Linked DNA regions of Homo sapiens: regions 1 and 2 are each linked to region 3. The links are contacts of gene promoters, found by promoter capture Hi-C in human tissues and cell types (Jung and others, 2019). All regions are on one chromosome and are shown on one strand. Each heading gives the region's core, a stretch centred on a gene start or on the middle of the fragment in contact. The rest is flanking DNA. Distances are from core to core; before and after follow the strand shown. Region 1 has its middle 92 kb from the start of LINC02754. Region 2 overlaps LOC112268076 (translation initiation factor IF-2-like). Region 3 holds the start of ACY3 (aminoacylase 3).

What was found. The method cuts DNA at HindIII sites, captures the fragments that hold promoters and counts their contacts. A contact is called where the count stands out against the background at its distance.
Region 1: a contact is called between a fragment that was not itself captured here and the fragment with the promoter of ACY3 in region 3, in 1 of the 25 tissues and cell types used here (H1 embryonic stem cells).
Region 2: a contact is called between a fragment that was not itself captured here and the fragment with the promoter of ACY3 in region 3, in 2 of the 25 tissues and cell types used here (spleen and stomach).

The regions. Positions count from the first base shown.
Region 1 is chr11:67,791,371-67,794,291 of GRCh38, forward strand. It overlaps the pseudogene ALG1L8P and the pseudogene FAM86C2P. Among named protein-coding and RNA genes, the nearest start is that of LINC02754, 92 kb to the right of the region's middle. RefSeq lists enhancers at 241-1,053, 1,867-2,678. The HindIII fragment of the contact is 4,732 bases long and covers 1-2,921 here.
Region 2 is chr11:67,819,850-67,822,549 of GRCh38, forward strand. The region is part of intron 3 of LOC112268076 (translation initiation factor IF-2-like); the gene reads right to left. It also overlaps the pseudogene ENPP7P7. Among named protein-coding and RNA genes, the nearest start is that of LINC02754, 63 kb to the right of the region's middle. The HindIII fragment of the contact is 6,215 bases long and covers 1-2,700 here.
Region 3 is chr11:67,649,480-67,652,433 of GRCh38, forward strand. ACY3 (aminoacylase 3) reads right to left here and starts at 1,251. Exons shown (of 8, transcript NM_080658.2): 1 at 1,104-1,251. RefSeq lists enhancers at 1,323-1,402, 1,473-1,532. The HindIII fragment of the contact is 14,698 bases long and covers 1-2,954 here.

The sequences.
Region 1 (2,921 bases), core at 250-2,749, 140 kb after region 3:
AGTCACAGAGGCTGGCCTACTCTGCTGTCCCGTTTCGGTACAGTAGGCTCGGGAAAGTTAGGACACACCCCCACCTGCCCTCTGGATTTATGGAGCTGACACTCCACAAATGATGCTGGAGCCGGGTGGGCCGGGCTGCAGTTTCGGAAGTGATCAGGATCAGGTAGGTGCATGGGCAAAGGGAACTTCTGGGACCAGCCTTGAAAGATGGGTGGAATTCTGCAAAGGTTACTTGTTTCTTATTGCTAAAAGTAATACATCATTCTTGCCAACAGAATGATTGGCAGGATTTTCAGTAAAGGTCCAGGTCAGAAGTCATTTAGACTGTGTCTCCTAGTCTCTGTCAGAACCATGGTACTCTGTTGTGGTGTGAAAGTAGCCACAGATCATCTTCGATTAAGGGGTGTGGCTTTGTTCCAATAAAACTTTATTTACAAACACAGGCTGTGGGCTGGATTTGGCCTGCAGGCTGTAGTTTGTGATCCTTGATTCAGACAGTTTAGCAAGGCTGAAAAGAACACCAACACCCCCTTGTTACCCACAGATGGGTGGGACTTGGCCAGAGGCCAAGAGGAGGGTGCTCGCAGGGGAACATACAGCGTGTAGAGGCCGGGAGGTGCTCCAGGGCACGAAGTGTGGGAAAGTGGGACAGAAAGCGTGATGTCAAGTTGGAGGCGGAGCGCTGCTGGGGCGTGAAGAGTCTCGAGTCCAAGTGAGGGAGTTAGGAACTTGGGAGGGTTTGTTGTTGGGTCGGGGACCTGGGGTCAGCCAGGTGGTGACCTGGGATGGGGTGGGGACAGGAAATGAGTTAAGCTCTGCTCTTTATTTTTTTGCAGATGCTTTTCTCAAACTTTCCTGATCCTGCGGGCAAGCTAAACCAGTTCTGGAAGAACCTGCGGGAATCGCAGCAGCTCCGATGGGATGAGAGCTGGGTGCAGAGTGTGCTCCATTTGGTTATGGACACATAACTCCTGGGCCAGAGGCTAAAACCCCGGGACCCCTGCTGTCCTTCCCGCAGCTTCTTCTCGGAGTCTCAGGGCAAACCCTTTCGAGCAGCGCCTCCCAGTGGCCAGAAGGTGAAATGACGGCAGTGGTGCCGCCTGGTAAATGAATTGGTTCTGTGACCCGGGAAGCTGTGCTTGGCTCTGATTTCTTTTCTGGAGGCTCGGAAACACTTCCTATCTTCTTCTGTTCTTCACGCCCCATGCCCCTGCTAGCGGATTACTGTTCTGCGACTTCCGTGTGACCTCTGCAGTACTCCTCATCCTGCGTTTGCTCTCCAGGTGTCATCTTTCCGCCGTGTTCCTAACATTTTGATTCCTGTCTTGAAAAAAGCACCTGCTGCACTGTAAGCCCAGGGATGTGGCAGCTGCAGTGGGCTTGGCTTTGTGAAGAACCGAGTGTGTCCACGGATGTGGCAGCTGCAGCGGGCTTGGCTTTGTGAGGAACCGAATGTGTCCAGGGATGTGGCAGCTGCAGCGGGCTTGGCTTTGTGGGGAACCGAGTGTGTCCACATTGGGGGAACATCATACTTGATACACACGTTTTTATTTGCACAAAGAAAATGCTATTTTTGGAGCCAGAGATTTCATGTCTGATTGATGGCGATTTTCTTAAGAACCAGAACTGCTGGCAGAAAGGGAGCACCCACATGCTTAGATAGCTGATGTCTTATTAGAGGGCAGTTTGTGGTTCCTGATTTGGAAATTAACATTCTCCAAACATTCCAGTCCAATGAAAGTTTTATCCGCTTTCCCATATAAAAACTCTTCCCACTAGAGTGACTTGATTCTCACAATCCCGTTGGAGTCGTATGTGAGTCCTACAGTGTGAGGTTCAGCATTGCCATCTCCAAGTGCTCTTCGTAGGGAAACAGTTTCTGGTCATGACGAGGTTCCACTTCCCATCTGATCCCAGCCCGGCCTGGAAACAGAGGACATGTGTTTCAGGATGGCAGTGTTTGGGGACAGGACATGAGCGTATTGTGTGGGGCTGCTAGGACAGGCCTGGCGGGGTGGGGGGTGTGTCCAAGTCAGTTTACTTGGTTCACAGGTTCCCAGGCCCACCCAGGTGCCTAGAATTGGCCTCCAGGATGGGACAAGAAATCTGGTTTTGCATAGAAATGGCTAGCAGCAGGCACCGTGCCGCTGTCCACTCTCTGCCCGCATCTGCCCCAGCACTTGGCACAGCGGGACAGATGCAGAGATCTGAACCCACATCTACCTGGCTGCTCAGTCAACCCACTATTCACAAAGCTTAGAAAGCGTCCAGGCACAGTGGCTCACGCCTGTAATCCCAACACTTTGGGAGGCCAAGGCGGGTGGATCACTTGAGATCAGGAGTTCGAAACCAGCCTGGCCAACATGGTAAAACCTCATCTCTACAAAAATACAAAAATTAGGCAGGCACGATGGTGGGTGCCTGTAATCCCAGCTACTTGGGAGGCTGAGGCGGGAGAATTGCTTGAACCCAGGAGGCGGAGGTTGCAGTGAGCCGAGATTGTGCCACTGCACTTGAGCCTGAGTGACAGAGTGAGACTCCATCTCAAAAAAAAAAAAAAAAAAAAAATTACACACACACACACACGCACACACACAGCTTAGAAGGGGCTGGTGTTCTCATAAGCACAGATGTCTGAAGAGCCGTTAGCCAGAATGATTCTTTTTTTTTTTTTTTTTGAGATACGATCTTGTTCTGTCACCCAGGCTGGAGTGCAGTGGCACAGTCATTGCTCACTACAGCCTCGACTCCTGGGCTCTAGCAATCCTCCCACTTCCTGAGTAGCTGGGATGACAGGTGCGTGCCACCATGCTAGTAATTTTTTTATTTTGTAGAGATGGGGTCCTGAATGCATGGCCTCAAGTGATGGTCCTGCCTCAGCCTCATTTATTATTTTTTTTTAAACAGAGATTTACTCTGTT
Region 2 (2,700 bases), core at 35-2,534, 170 kb after region 3:
TGGTTGTCTCCTAGATCCAAGGTGACTTTATTCATTTTAGAATGAACTTATCCCATTGATACTGTAACTAGAGTTGGCATACATCACGATTGGCAGAACCCGGTCATGTTTAGCGAGATGGAAGTGTTCTGGAAACTCCTCCTTCTTGTAGATGTGGAGGTGAGGGTGCGCATTCTTCAGTGCCTGGTAAAGGGCTTCTTCTTGCCCCAGTTTGGGTAGGGGCAGCCCAAAGCCACCATAGCCCACAATATCAAACTTGACCCAGTCCCTGAACTTGATGTAGTTGGACAAGGGATCTTGTTGACATTGGGTCTCTTCTTCACGGTCATCATCCCATGGTCTCATGTGATGATGACCTGAGGTGCTCTGCAGGCTGTGCTTCTCAGTGGCTCCCACCAGATACCAGATGGTCCTGTCGAGTTGCTGAATCATCAACTTCCTATTCTCTGCCTCTGGCTTGAATCGATGTCCTACGTTATCTGGCTGTCTGTAGTACAGAGTCACAAAGTCAAAGTCTTCCTTGGTGAAGCAGTTCATGACGGTATCGATGTTCTCCCTCTGCTCTGTCTCGTTGTTATTTTGGTGAGTGTAGGACTCCACCAGGGACCGCTTGACAGCCTCACCCTCGTATTTAGCACCTCCCCTGGAATAGTGGGATGATGCTGCTTTCTTCCCCTTCACGTACAATAAGAAAATTCCATCAGGGCCATTTCTCATACCTTTCTCACAATCAGCAAAGCTCGAGTTGTCTACATCTGTGCCCCAGTCCAAAGACATAGAAAATATGTGGTCTTTGGAGTCAGACAGGGTGGAGTTAGATTCTGGGATTCCCCAGGATCTCATAGCATCTACAACACTGTTAGTTACAAGATGTACTATTATTTTATGGGCTACTAAGCAGAAAAATGCCGCCAACGAGACTGTGACATTCCAGTGATTGTAAGGTGTATTACAACTTCAGAGATGGCAAAATGAAAAATAATTCCTTAGAATAGAGGGAGACGGTAATTTCTGAGTTGTTGGTGGTGAATCTGTGCATGTGTGTTTTTTATATATATACACATATATATACATACATATACATGTATATATATGTGTATATATAGACATACCTATATACATATACATATATATATGTGTATATATAGTGGTGCAGTGGTACAATCATAGCTCATTGCACCCTTGAACTCCTGGGCTTAAGCGATCCTCCTACCTCAGCCTCTTGAGTAGCTGGGGCCACAGGCATGTACCACCATACCTATATATATATATTTTTTTGAGACACGGTGTCACTCTCTCACCTAGGCTGGAGTGCAGTGGCACGATCTCAGCTCACTGCAACTTCTGACTCCTGGGTTCAAGCAATTCTTTTGCCTCAGCCTCCCAAGTAGCTGGGATTATAGACACGTGCCACTATGCTCAGCTAAGTTTTGCATTTTTAATTGAGATAGAGTTTTGTCGTGATGGCCAGGCTGGTTTCGAACCCCTGGGCTGAAGTGATCCACCTGCCTTGACCTCCCAAAGTGCTGGGATTACATGTGTGAGCCACCGCGCCTAGCCCTAATTTTTTTTTTTTTTTTTTTTTTTTTAGTCTTTGTAGAGATGAGGTCTCGCTAATTTGCCCAGGCTTGTCCTGAACTCCTGGGTTTAAGTGATTCTCCTGCCTCAGCCTCTCAAACTGCTGGGATTACACGCAAGAGACACTGCACCCGGCTGGTTGTGAGTTTTTAAATTTTCCAGTGTCTCAGTGTTTCTACCTGTAGAATGCCAAAAAGTAGATGGCATCTTTGCGAGGATTAAGTCGACTAGCTTTTTTTTTTTTTTTTTTTGAGAGAGAATTTCTTTCTTGTCACCCAGGCTGGAGTGCAATGGCGTGATCTTGGCTCACTGCAACCTCTGCCTCCTGGATTCAAGTGATTCTCCTGCCTCAGCCTCCCAAGTAGCTGGGATTACAAAGCCAGCTAGCTTTAAGATACAGTGTGGGGCATCACATTTTGGCACGGAGCAGGCACTCTTTCCTTTGCCCCCAGGTGGGACTAAGCCACCACAAGCCTTCCCTGGTGTGTGCAGTGGGTGATGAATGCTTGCCTGCTCAGCACCCACTACATGCTGGGCTGGGTCACATTACTCTGACTCCCCCTTGAGCTTCAGTCCGTGCCTGGTTCAAGATGTATTCACTCAACTCGAGGATCCAGAGGTGGGATGTGGCTCTGGCCTGGCCAGAGGACAGAGGATGCTGCATGCCATGGCTACAGCAACTGGTTCAGCTTTGGGCTCATGTCCTAGTCAGAGCCAATGAGATGTAATCTTCGGATATCTGCTGGGCTGTTGGGAAGGGGACAGGCTGCCCTGCTCATCCCCATTCCTGATGCTGAGGGATCTGAGAAAATCACTTGTAAAATTCGGGGGTGTTTGGAAGAAGGGGAGACCGATGTCTCCTTCTCTCTACAGACATCTGATCAGCTACAGAGCTTGACTGACCTACCCAGAGGCATAATGATATGGTGGTTAAAAGTGTGCTCTGGGCCGAGATCTTGCCACCGAACTCCAGCCTGGGTGACAGAGTGAGACTCCGTATAAAAAAAAAAAAAAGTGTGCTCTGGGCTGGGCGCGGAGGCTTATGACTGTAATCCCAGCACTTTGGGAGGCTGAGGCAGGAAGATCGCTTGAAGTCAGGAGTTTGGGATCAGACCCTATCTC
Region 3 (2,954 bases), core at 1-2,500:
CGGGGTCCAGGAACCCTCAGAAACAGCAGCCCCCAGTCCTGGCAGTGTGTGCGCGTGTGTGCATGTGTGTGCATGCATGTGTGCATCTGTACATGTGTGCGTGTGCATGAGAGCATGTGTGTGCGTGTGTGCACTCACATGTGTACGTGACAGCATGCGTGTGTGCGTGCGTGTGTACATGTGTGTGCATGTGCATGAGTATTGTGTGCATGTGTGCATGTATGTGTACATGTGTGCGTGTGTGCATGAGAGCATGTGTGCGTGTGTGCGCATGTGTGACAGCATGCATGTGTGCGTGTGTACGTGTGTGCATGTGCATGAGAGTATTGTGTGCATGTGTGCATGCATGTGTGTGTACATGTGTGCGTGTGTGCATGAGAGTGTGTGTGCATGTGTGTGCATGTGTGCATGTGCTTGAGAGCGTGTGTGCGTGCATGTGCGTGAGCATGTGTGCGTGTGTGTGTGTTGTGTGCACACGTGTGACCTGGCTCTGGCCCCACCTCCCTGACAGGCTGTGTGACCTGGAGAGATTCAGTGCCCTCTCTGGGCCTTGGCTCCACCCTGTGAAAGTCCTGGCCAAGGGCAGCTGTGGGGAGTGAGGAACAAAGGGCGGGCACAAGCTTGAAAATGGGCACATGGAGACCCCAGCATGAGTGAGGGCAGAGGATGGTGATGTCATGGGCATCATCACGGGGGCCAATTTCCTCACTGCAGTTGGGGAAACTGAGACCCAGAGAGGGGTCAGAGCTGTGGTTCCCCCCTGTGTCAGCATCCAATTAGATCATGCCTCCCAGCATCACCTCATTGCAAGATGCAATCAGATCACGCCTCATTACCCTATGCTTATAAAACCTGCCCCAGCCCTCAGCTCGGGGAGACACTGCTTTGGGAGCTGTCTAGGTGTTCTCCTTACTTGTTGCAAGAAATAAAATCCCCTATTAAATCCTCTTTAGTTAACACCCGCCAAGCAACTGAGCCCACCCGTTGTGTGGGTAACAAAACTCTGGCGACCCAGATGGGGCCGACTGGGATTCTGATCCTAACTTCTTGAGGCTCACTAAGGTAAAGCAGTGGGCCGCGGCACCTTCCCCGGGCGAACTCACCCACGTGGCCCCAGAGGGTTGAGGGTGACTCCCGGGGATCTTCTGCTTGCTGCGTGGCCCGTGGGGCTGTCACTCCGCCCTACCCCCGAAACAGCGGAAGCAGCTGCCTGGAGCTTTTGTTCTGTGCTGCTCCTTCAGGGAAGAAAGTGGACTTTGCCCCGTGGGTTGACTGAAAGGGTAAATTCTTTGGACCTAGCAGTGGGATCTCTAGACTTCAGCGCAGGGCACCTCTGCTTTCGGTTTCTGTCTGGCTCTACGTGCCGTGGGGGATTGAGAGGCATCTCTGGCCAGGCCAAGGGCAACCCGGATCCCGGATCTGGGTAGACAACAGTGGGACTAGTTTTGGGAATTCGTTTTTTTTTTTTTGAGACAGAGTCTGGCTCTGTCACCCAAGCTGGGGTGCAGTGGCGCGATCTCGGCTCACTGCAAGCTCCACCTCCCGGGTTCACGCCATTCTCCTGCCTCAGCTTCCTGAGTAGCTGGGACCACAGGCGCCCGCCACCACGCCCGGCTAATTTTTTGCATTTTTAGTAGAGACGGGGTTTCACCGTGTTAGCCAGGATGGTCTCGATCTCTTGACCTCGTGATCCGCCCGCCTCGGCCTCCCAAAGTGCTGAGATTACAGGCGTGAGCCACCGCGCCCAGCATGAGAATTTGTTCTTTTTTAGAGAAACAGAATTTTTCACAGGAGGCTGAGCTGCTCCATCTCCCAGAGCCCCTACTTGCCATACCCCGGGTTACCAGAAACAGGAGCTCTGCCATTTGATGAAAAAAATACTTTTTTCAGATAAATGTTTTTGTCATATCATCACACAAAGCGGGTAAAGTTGTATATATATACATACAACTTTTTACAAATATGTGATCATATGTACAAAGGCTAGAAGGAAATATACAGAAAAATATGTATTAAAATACTGGTTTTTTTTCATTGTTTTATAAGATACTCTACAAAACATTACAATGAGGTAGGACTATTTTAGTGCTAGAGAATCTCATTAAATGAATTTGTTCAAGAGCTTCTTTGTCAGCTGGGTGCAGTGGCTCACACCTGTAACCCCAACACTTTGGGAGGCCAAGGGGGGCAGATTGCTTGAGCCTAGGTGTTCAAGACCAGCCTGGGCAACATAGGGAGACCCTGTCTCTACCAAAAAAAAAAAAAAAATTAGGGTGGGCGCGGTGGCTCACACCTATAATCCCAGCACTTTGGGAGGCTGAGGCGAGTGGATCACCTGATGTCAGGAGTGTAAGACCAGCCTGGGCAACATGGCAAAACCCCGTCTGTACTAAAAATACAAAATTTATCCAGGCATGGTGGTGGGTGCCTGTAATCCCAGCTACTTGGGAGGCTGAGGCATGAGGCAGAGGTTGCAGTGAGCCGAGATCATGCCATTGCACTACAGCCTGGGCGACAAGAGCGAAACTCTGTCTCAAAAAAAAAAAAAAAAAAAAATTAGCCAGGTGGTGGCACACACAGCTGTGGCCCCAGCTACTCAGGAGGCTGAGGCGGGAGAATCACTTGAGCACGGGGAGTTGGAGGTAATCGTACCGTGAGTACAGTGAGCCGTTATCGTATGGCTGCATTCCAGGCTAGACAACACAGTGAGACCTTGTCTCAAAAGAAAATAAATAAATAAATAAATAAATAAATAAATAAATAAATAAATAAAGAGCTTCTTTGTCAATATCCTTTTGTGGGTATACATCATAGTCCCACAGTACTTCTTCAACCCAGGGAGATAAATGTGTATTAGTCTGAAGACCCAGGAGAGAATCTTCAAGACTTGGCACTGTCACTGATGATGATCTGCTTCCTTACATTATGACAAATGTATTCCCAGCTCCGGCTTG